2 separate regions of the Homo sapiens genome follow, and region 1 is linked to region 2. The links are contacts of gene promoters, found by promoter capture Hi-C in blood cells and fetal thymus (Javierre and others, 2016). All regions are on one chromosome and are shown on one strand. Each heading gives the region's core, a stretch centred on a gene start or on the middle of the fragment in contact. The rest is flanking DNA. Distances are from core to core; before and after follow the strand shown. Region 1 overlaps LOC105369299 (a long non-coding RNA gene). Region 2 holds the start of HEMK2 (HemK methyltransferase 2, ETF1 glutamine and histone H4 lysine).

Region 1 (5,074 bases), core at 1,747-4,246, 410 kb after region 2:
CCCAGTTGGGTGCAGAGCAGTCAGGCTACATCCAAGATTCTGAGGGTCTCACTTTCTATCCCCAGACATTTATATGTATGTATATGTGTGTGTATACATATATTTGTGTGTGTGTATATATGGTGATAAATGTATAAATATTATTATAAAACACTTAAACATTTATTATAAACTGTTATGTTAATATAAAAAATATATGTATGTACATATACATATAATACATATAAAAACACCTTGCAGCATTAGCTTATGAGAGAAGAATTTCTCTACTTCATTAAATAAATATATGTAACAGAATGAGAGAAAATCTGTAGCACAATGAATTCTAATGGAGGACAATTTCAAGTGTCATTTTAGGTCTAGGAGCTTGACACAGGTTTAAAATGAAACAGCCTTTTTCAATATTTTCTGTTTTATTTACTGAACTTTCCTCTAAGTCATGATCATTGGGGTTGTGGTTCTTCTTACAAAGTTAACTCCATTTTCATGCTCCATTTTAATCATCTGATATTTTATTTAATCTTGATTTTGGTTATCTATTGCTATATTAAAAAAACTGCAAAATTTCATGACTTTAAACAATAATCATTTTACTATTTCATAATTCTATGTGTTGGCTGGGCTCAGCTGGTAAGTTCTTTTGTATAGACTTGACCAAAGAACATCCTAGATGGCTCATTCACATGACTGGCACTTGATGCTCAGTACTGGCTGGTTGCTCTGCTGGGGCTCCTGAGTGAAGAGGCCACACATGCCCCATGCATGGTGGTTTGGTTCTGAGAGAGGGTGTCCCAAGAGAGCTCATTTGAAGAAAGAGGAAGTAGAGGCTAACAGTCTTCTAAAAGACTAGAACCAGAACTGGCAGAGCATCACTTCTGCAGTGTCTTCTTGGTGATGCAGTCACAGGGCCAGATTCAAGATGATGAAAAATAAACTCCCATTCTTGACGGGGAAAACGATAAAAATTTTGTGGCCATCTTTAGTCCACTGCAACCTCCTACTGGTTTTCAGAAGCGCAATTTTTTTTGGATATTTGGGCCACTTTGGTTGTCATTAAATCTGGTATCTGAGCAGCACCTCTTTCACTGATTTGGCCCCTGTCCCACTGAGTTCTTCTGCTTCAAAACTGGCTATTTCCTTTTCATTTTTCTGCCTTTATCTTAATTTTACACTTTGTAACATTTCAAACCAGAGGCTACACCTCATCTTTGATTTCAGTTATCAGGTAAACATGAGGGTGTGTTTACTCATCTGCTCCAGGAAGTTCTCATTGTCTTCTAATAAAATATGTTCATTTTCCATAAAACTTTCCAACCTGGAGGCAGGGGTGCTATGACTTTAATCCATAGTCACATCTCAGGGTACAGGTGTCAAAGAGCAGTTGTTCAAGTGGGAGACTTGTGTTGATCTGGGTAATCCCCCACCTTTAAAGCCTAGTTGTTTTGCCCCACCCCCCCTCCAATATTTTCTTGACTTAGTGAGTGAATACTTAAAGACAAAAGGAGCTAAGGCAATGAAGATGGAGGGAATGAAGTTCTGGGAAGGCTGGAGGGGTATGCAGATTTGTAGGGGTTACAGATGTCATGCTGCATCTGTGGAAATGAGGATTCAAAACCAAAGGTGGGTAGGGAATAAATGTGGAAGTGTGGATCTTTCCTGAGGTTAGGGAGGAGGACAGGGGACAAGGGTTACACTGACTACACATCAAAGTTTTTTCAGGATATGTATTATGTCTTACTGTCCAAATATTATGCTATGGTGTTCCTTATAGCCATGAACATGTCACCTATCTGTATGATTTAGCTCCCTCATTTTTGAGAGTCAGGCAAGACAACCTGCTATTAGAGGAGAAAATGATGGTGTTTGTATCTAGGTTTTATTAAAAATCATTCCCTAACTATGGCTTATAGTTATTTAAATTGTTTTCAGAGTTAATGATAAGATTTTATTTTGGTAATAAAATCAGTATGATGGCCAGAAAGAAGATATGAATGTTTGGAAAAATTGGAAATATCATTTTTGAAAGAAATGTGACAATGCACATATATAACATCTTGCGAATGGTATTGTATATCACCAAACCTGCTCACAGCAGGAAAACTAGCCATCACTTCTCACAGTCAATGAGAAGTATAAATCAAGGACATAGCAGTAAGCTGTGATACCCAAGCTTCACGGATAAATTCTCCTAAAGAATAATGCACTAAAAACAAAACTACATGACAAAAAAAAGCACTAATTGCAAATCACTGTGAAACAGTAGCACAAAATCTTTATATTGTGCTACTAGTGACAGCAACAGAAGACAGTCAAACGCCTAGGCAGATAGAGGCAGGTCCCCGGTGAAACCCCACCTCCAAGCTGAAGACAGTTTAAAGCCTGAAAGCCAAACTACAAGTTAAATTTTCAGACTAGATTGAGAACTTGTCTTCCTGTTTGGCACGCTTTCCTCTGATCTCCACCCTTCACCTATTTTACGTATACTTACCCTTTCTAATTGGTTTTCTACACTGTCGTGCCTGCCTTTGAGTGGTGTCTTTGCTTTAACCTTTTTTTGCAAACTCACAAACCAATCAGCATGCACTCCCCATTCTGAGTGCATAAAAGCCCCAGGCTCAGCCACATGAGAGGGGATTTTCCCACTTTCGGGTAGGGGAACTGCTCCCAGCATTCGCTCTTTGCTGAGAGCTTTCCTTTTGCTTAATCAATTCCACTCCACTCACTTTCCGGTGTCTGTGTGCCTAGTTTTTCCTGGTTGTGAGACAAGAACTTGGACCTAGCTGAGCTAAGGAGCAGAAAGACTGCCAAGACTAGGCTACTTGTCCCAGTTTCAAACTATTATCAATACTAATTGAAAGCAATCAGCTGGGAGCGGTGGCTCATGCCTGTAGTCCCAGCACTCTGGGAGGCCAAGGCAGGTGGATCATTTGAGGTCAGGAGTTTGAGATCAGCCTGGCCAACATGGTGAAACCTTGTCTCTACTAAAAATACAAAAATTAGCTGGGCTTGGTGGTGGGTGCCTGAAATTCCAGCTACTCAGGAGGCTGGGGCAGGAGAATCACTTGAACCCGGGAGGCAGAGGTTGCAGTGAGACAAAATCATGCCACTGCACTCCAAGCCTGCGTGACAGAGAGAGACACCATCTCAAAAAAAAAAAAAAAAAAAGCGATCAGAATTTTTTTTCTTGGTCCCCAAATCTCAACATTTTTTTTTCCCAATAGGAATTAGGTAGAAGCACTATGTCTCATTATAACCTCAAGATAATTTTTAAAAATCTGTTTTAGTAATAGATTTTAATAAACATATGAGTTAGTATAAAAGATCTTGAGGCTGATGTTCTTCAAAGTTGACCATGATGTAGCCACTTTTCTTGATTCCGAGTATTGCAGGATTACTCAAGGTTTTGTTGGCCTGGCAGCTAATAATGTTAATGCTAACTCTGGAAGTCCAGAAGACATAGGTCAGAACATACAGTTGTTTGTGAATATTTACACTGACATACAGGTTTTAAAAGAAATACATTCTAAGTGGTTTTGGTTCAAAGCAAGAGAATACTGAAAACAAAAAGTGCCACATCTTTCACTGAGCATTTTACTGCATTCATTCCTTCATTCAACCTACTATCTGTTTCCACTCCCATTCCTTCTCAATACTAGAATTAGCTTTTAAAAATAACCACATGACTTAGAAACCTCTACTCACTTATTGCAGACCACGGGATGAAGTCCAAACTCCAGGTGCTGTGCATGAGGCCCTTCTCATACTGACTCGGTTTCATTTCATTCTCCAGTTTCATTTTTCGTCCTGTCCCTACTACATGCCATAAGCTTGAAGACCACATGCTTCAGTATTAAAAATGCAGACCCTTAGGTCCTACTCAGATCTACAAAATTAGCATCTTTTGGGGGTGGGACCCAGGAATCTGCATTTTTTTTTTTTTTTTTTTTTTTGAGATAGAGTTTTGCTCTGTCGCCAGGCTGGAGTGCAGTGGCGCGATCTCAGCTCACTGCAACCTCCACCGCCCAGGTTCAAGCGATTCCCCTGTGTCAGCCTCCTGAGCGGCTGGGACTACAGGCGCACACCATCATGCCTGGCTAATTTTTTGTATTTTAGTAGAAACGGGGTTTCACCATGTTGGGGTTTAGTAGAAACGGGGTTTCACCATGTCGATCTCCTGACCTCGTGATCCGCCCGCCTTGGCCTTTGAAAGTGCTGGGATTACAGGCATGAGCCACTGCTCCCGGCCGGAATCTGCATTTTAACAAGCAAACCAAATATTCTTCCCCATAATGAAGCTTGAGAGTCACTCACTTGACTTGATACTCTTAGCACATCTGTATACCTTTGTGAGAACTTCTCAAATAATTAAACCTATCAGGGCATACATCATAATTTTCAGGCTAGAAAATGTCACTGCTATTATCTAAAGAAGCAAGAGTTCCTCCCAAAGAGGAGGGTCTGATCTTCCCCTAGAAAAAACTGCACAGGTGTAGAAAAAACTGCATAGGTGTAGAAAAAAGACACTGCAATTCCACTGGCTCAAGGTGGAAGGAGAATAAAGCCTCGGACACTCCCATGTGTCTGCAAGAACTTCAATCCTTCTTTCATGGTGTATTTCCAAGTGTCCTTTCCTCCTGTTTCACTAAATATCTGCACTCTCACCATGAACTGAGGCAGCCTGGGATGCGAGGTACCTCCTACCTCTGGACCCTATCTAGACTGCTGGGTTCCACTCTTCCCAATCAAGACCCAATGCAAATGTCACCTGCTCCAGGAAGCCTCCCCTAATTCTAGGTCATAATGTATCACTTCACCCCTCGCACTCTCATCCAATTTCACTTGTGTGATTTTCTCATGTATTTTGGATGTAGCTCAAACGTCCCCAAGTCCCACAGCCTGTGGGTGCAAATGCAGTCATGTTAGTCGTAATACCTGAATTATTATCTTGGTATCCTTTTTGCCCCGGGAACTCCAGGGCTGTGTTCTTGTTGCTGGCTCCAAAGCTAACAATAAAATCCCTTCACACAAATCGTCCTTTGGCTTCAGACCTCAAGGTCCGTGTCATCTCCGCAGG
Region 2 (5,342 bases), core at 1,907-4,406:
TAGGGTACAAGCTGCTGCCTCAGGGTTGATATCAGTGCACCTATAAACAGAAATGGAAGGAAACTATATCCTATGTCCATAAGGCAAATCTGTTACTGAGTAATATCAAGGTATGTTCCATTAATTCTACACAGAACAGATTTAGAAAAAAAAAAATTAGAACGTATTCAATAATGGCAAAGAAAAAGAGAACAAGGATTTGTTCTATTGATGAAAAAGACTGTTATATTGATACAATGTCCAAGAGTAGAAGAATACACATACATGCACAGACATCTGAAGGAATTTATGAATTATACATCCAATGAAGGAGTACTATGCAGCCACCAAAAATGAAATTTAAAAGGAATTTTTGATAGGAAAATGTTTATGAGACGAAATTAAATTAAAAACACAGGAAATGAAAAAAAACAGAAGGAAACACAGTTGGACCATGTATGGTAAAATTTATAGGTGATTTTAATTTTCTTCTTTATACTTTTCTACATTCCCAATCTTCTATAAATTTAAGCAACTTTAAATGTCTTATGATATCAAATTACTTAGCTAAGAAATCAAATTTAGAGATGATCTAAAATTATGCTGCTTCTACAATTACGTAGTATGATGGAGCAGTTTGAACATGAATAATTTTTAGGGAAGCATAGTTTGTAATCTGAGTTTTTGCTATGCTTAAATACTATAAGATACATACTGTCTCTTTAAAAATTATTTCATTAGAGTTATCATAGTTAACCTGTCAGTGGAAGATCTAGATGAATATGATATACTTACATGTACAAAGCCTGAGGGCCTATCATAGAGGCTAGGAATGCAGATACTACACCAGACCCTGACCCTACTTCCAGGCATATTTCCACTCTGAAAAAAAAATAAATAAATATTAGTATAGTAGAATCAAAATACTCTTCACAGAAAACTCTCATGCTAGTGTTATTTCTAGCATATATATTTCTCTAGCATCATCACTCACCTGCAAATATATGAAAATAGAAATTTATAATTTCTGACAACTACTTTGTACTTAATATTGCATAACTCAAAATTACTAATATTTTGGGTACGTAATATAAGTCCATAAAAGTTATCTATTACCAAACATGGCTTTCAGTTAATTTCAACAAACCATTACATTAAAAAGTATGGAAAAATGTTAATCTAGGGTTGGAAATATTAATGTGAAAGACATCATTCCTTCGCACAAGGAGCTCCTAGCTTAGTATTTCCTAAAATAAAGTTTGTATTATTACAAAATTTATTTTTGAAAAAAGTTCCTCTATCATTTTTAATACCTAACATTCATAGAGCCATCAGTATATCCTAGAGAATTAAAAGGTCCCCCAATAATAGAGCAGGACAAAAATTCTTTTTCTGGACAGCTATATGCTAATTGGGAAAATAGTATCTGATCTTTGAATGTTAACCATCTTAGAATGCTGTTAACTATAAAATCTTCATTCTACTGTACTTTATCTTTCCATTAAATTTATTTTCTTGCCTATAATCTTGGAAGTTGCTTCTTTTTTAGAGACAGGCTCTTGCTCTGTCACCTAGGCTAGAGTGCAGTGGTGCCATCACAGCTCACTGCTGCCTTTAACTCCTGGGCTTGCTCAAGTGATCCTCCCACCTCAGCCTCCCAAGTAGTTAGGACTATAGGCACGAACCACAGTGCCAGCCCTCTATAATGTTATACATGCATCAAAAGCATAAATCATCCCCATTAAAAAGATCAGCTTGATGGCATTTAGGGAAATTTTTAGCACTGAACTCCCAAAACAACTACCCAGTGACAAGCTCCAGAGGTTTTAAACTTTTGGAACCAGTCTACACATCTGACAAGTCTTTATTAGGTGGTAGTAAGGTCTGAGAATCTCACCAGGTGGCTTCTCTTTGAAAATAACTATCATGGTCTCATAAATAATTAGAATTCCAAACTAGAAATAACCCAAGACTTTATAACAAAATCAGCTCCTTTTACAGCATACTTTGCAGTGCAATTTGTGCTTGTAAATCTTTCTGGGCTATCTTGAGAAGAAAAGACAAGTTATAAAACAGTACTGTTCCACTGTATATTCCAGTAGATCCAAAAGTTCCATCATCTACAATGAAAGACTAGTTTAATAAGAGCTGGGACATTTTATACTGGAGAAATATGACCAAGTTTAAGAGGGATAAATAAATACAATATAGATCTTTGAAACCTGAAAGCTGTTTGTTCCATCCTGAGAAAACCCAGTTCATCTTATCTTCAAACAAATCTAACAACCCAAATTCCTTACATTTAAAAATCACAATGTCAGTATTCATTCCTTCTGCTATTAATTTAAAATTGATGGCGATCACTTCAATAAATCCATTTAAATAAAGTGCTAGGGTAGACTATTGTCTGCTAGCTGCATGTAACTTTTTTTTGGTAACAATTAAATGAAAAATTCAGTTCCTCAATAGCACTAGCCACATTTCAAGCGCTCTGTAGCCACATGTGAGGACTGGCTGGTGCTAGAGTATGCTATTCAGTGGGTTTAAAAATATTTCCCCACTCCAGTAACACAACTTTCTTTCATGTTTGTTAAGGGTGCTTTCTATGTGCTGAGTAAATCAAATAATACCATGCAATTTTAATATGTAATACTTTAAAAATATTAATAAGCAATGTTTCCGGAATATTTTGTTTCCAAACGTGTTATACTATCGCTTCTCTCAGGGACATGTGTTCTTCAGATTAACAGGCGACAGGAAAAGATACGCCTTTGCATGGTAAGCAGTCAGGGAGCTCATGAGACAGAGCAGCCCCCTGGCAAAGGAGATGCGTCCCCGGCACACTCATTACTTGTAGCTACAGGAAAATTCTCAATTACGGCGTCCTGGCTGTCAATCATCTGCAAGTGGACCCCGCCTGCTCCGGCTCAGGGCGGTGATAGTCACCGTTCCGGCCCTCCTCCACCGCACTTCTTCAGAAAGCCGCAACCCTTTCCCGTCAGAGCCCCTCCCCTCCTCGCACCCTGCCAGTTCGGCAGCCGCTGCCTCCAGCGCGTCCAAAAGCAGAAACGTGTCCTCCGCGGGCTCGTACACGTCGCTGAAGGCGCCGCGGCCCACGTGCCCGTGGAACGGCGTAGCGAAGTTCTCCCCTGCCATAGTCCTTCGCTGCGTTCCATGCGCGTGCGCAGGGCGTGCGCATGCGCATGCGCATGCCCTCACCCTCATGCGCAGGCCTAGGAGTGGGGCTGGCGTCCCGGGCGACCAGTGTGTTGTTGTTGGGTCTTAATTCTAAATTTGTCAGTGGCTCTCCTTGAAATTGCTAAGTAGACAGTTGTATAATCCGTGACTATTGACATTTGCTTTCTTCTTTGGAACATTTAAATTTTATTCTGTGAACTAGAACCTGATAGTGGGCATTCTGAGTTGTTTTTGACTAAGGTGAATGTTCTTTCTTCATTCTAATGATATTTGGAAATTCTGTTTTATTCCTAGTTTGCAAGGATTTGAAAAAATACATAATAAATTTTACTGTTTTTTTGTCAGCTGAACTTTAAGCTTTACGCTATAAAGATGAAGACTTTCCTCGTTTTTTTACTGTACTTTATAAATTGCCTTCCTGATGAATCATGAATGCACTCTTTTTATAAACCTTAAGCAAGATGATGCGGTTTAATACACTGCTGAATTGGGGAGGCTAATAATCTGGCTCCGTTTTTTTTTACCAAGATTACGCTACCCTCGTTATGTGAGTTAGGACACTGTTTCTGGAACATTAGGTAGAAAGCCTTAAAACTGGCTGGGCTTGGTGCCTTTTTGAGTGAATGGATCTTTGATGTTTTGGAACATCTGTAAGTTATTAGACTATTCAAGTATTTGCATTCTTTTTGAGTCAATTTCTGAAATTTGTTTCGCAATGAAACATTTTTACAGCTCGTTTTTTAAATTTGAGAAATAAAAATACAGAAAAGTATTTGAGGTACAAATTTTATTTTATTTTATTTCTACTTATGTATTTTTTTTTTTTGGAGACAGAGTCTCGCTGTATCCCCCAGGCTGGAGTGCAGTGGCGCGAGCTAGGCTCACTGCAACCTCTGCCTCCCAGGTTCAAGCGGTTCTCCTGCCTCAGCCTCCGGAGTAGCTGGGATTACAGGCGCCTGCAGCCACGGCTGCCTAATTTTTGTATTTTTAGTAGAGACGGATTTTCCCCATGTTGGCCAGGCTGGTCTCAAACTGCTGACTTCAGGTGATCCACCCGCCTTGGGCTCTCAAAGTGCTGAGATTACAGGTGTGAGCCTTTAACGCACCCGGCTGGGTTACAAATTTCAAAACCCCAAGTTTTAAACCCAGAAATGACAGTATTTTCTCATGTTTCCTTAAAATATTTTTTAAATACAAGAACTAAAATATTACAAATAAGATGGATGTTCTTTCTCTATTTGCCTTCAGTTTAATTGTGTAACATTCTCTCCAAGGCTCTTATGGATTTAGTGTATGTCCATCTAATCCATGTAAAAACATGGATCTTGTATTTATACGTTTATAAACATTCATATCTTTATAAGCAACATACGGTGTATTTTAAAATTTACATAACTGGTACTAGGTTGGACATATTTTTCAAATTTCTTTTTCAGTCAACATTATATGAGATTTATGTTTTGATATATGGTTAGGTTACTCCTCTTAACTGCCATATAGAATTTTATTATGTAAAAATATGAAAAATATATATATATAGAAAGAGTTGTACTTGATCTCCTGGGTTCAAGCGATCCTCCTCCCTCAGCCTCCTGAGTAGCTGGAACTGGAACCATAGGTGCTCTCGCACCCAGTATTAGGAATATACAAATGTCTTTTTATCCAAAAATACAAAATAAATTATCTGTAGGCATGGACAGTGACAGCAGTAAAACATTATATATTTTGTCACTTGAAACCAGTAACTGATTGTTATAGTGATTTCCTAAACATCTGCTAGCCTTTTCTTCAGTCGTTTTCTCCAGCTGACTTCTCTGAAGTTATTGGTGAGGAATACTGCCTTGGGCTTCCTGCCACAGTTCATTAATTAAAGTAAAACGCTATTCTAATCATTAGAACTTGCCATTTCCCATAACACCTCCCGTTCCACCCATTGCACCCAATACAGGGTCCTTCTCTTTTTTTAGGAATTTCTTTGACTACAACTTCTGCTGTAGTTAACAGGCCACCCCAGCAGCATCCAGTAAAGCACTTCTCACAACCTTTGTTTTGTCAATAATTCCTTTTTTCCACCATATTCACAAAATCTGACCGTGGCATCACAACCAGCTTCTCAGGAACTGCATAATTTTCTGGACTATCAAAGATCCTTCAACACCCGCATT

Evidence for each region. The method cuts DNA at HindIII sites, captures the fragments that hold promoters and counts their contacts. A CHiCAGO score of 5 or more calls a contact.
Region 1: a contact is called between a fragment that was not itself captured here and the fragment with the promoter of HEMK2 in region 2, in 2 of 17 cell types (non-activated CD4 T cells and activated CD4 T cells). The highest score is 6.6, in non-activated CD4 T cells.

What each region holds. Positions count from the first base shown.
Region 1 is chr21:29,292,904-29,297,977 of GRCh38, forward strand. LOC105369299 (a long non-coding RNA gene) reads right to left here. Exons shown (of 2, transcript XR_937652.3): 1 at 3,703-5,074; 2 at 3,275-3,439. Among named protein-coding and RNA genes, the nearest start is that of BACH1, 3.5 kb to the right of the region's middle. The HindIII fragment of the contact is 1,657 bases long and covers 2,169-3,825 here.
Region 2 is chr21:28,882,211-28,887,552 of GRCh38, forward strand. It overlaps HEMK2 (HemK methyltransferase 2, ETF1 glutamine and histone H4 lysine), which reads right to left and starts at 3,157. Exons shown (of 6, transcript NM_013240.6): 1 at 3,002-3,157; 2 at 775-861; 3 at 1-40. The coding sequence starts at 3,135. It also overlaps the pseudogene HSPD1P7. RefSeq lists enhancers at 2,456-3,015, 3,011-3,070, 3,016-3,574. The HindIII fragment of the contact is 10,284 bases long and covers 1-3,532 here.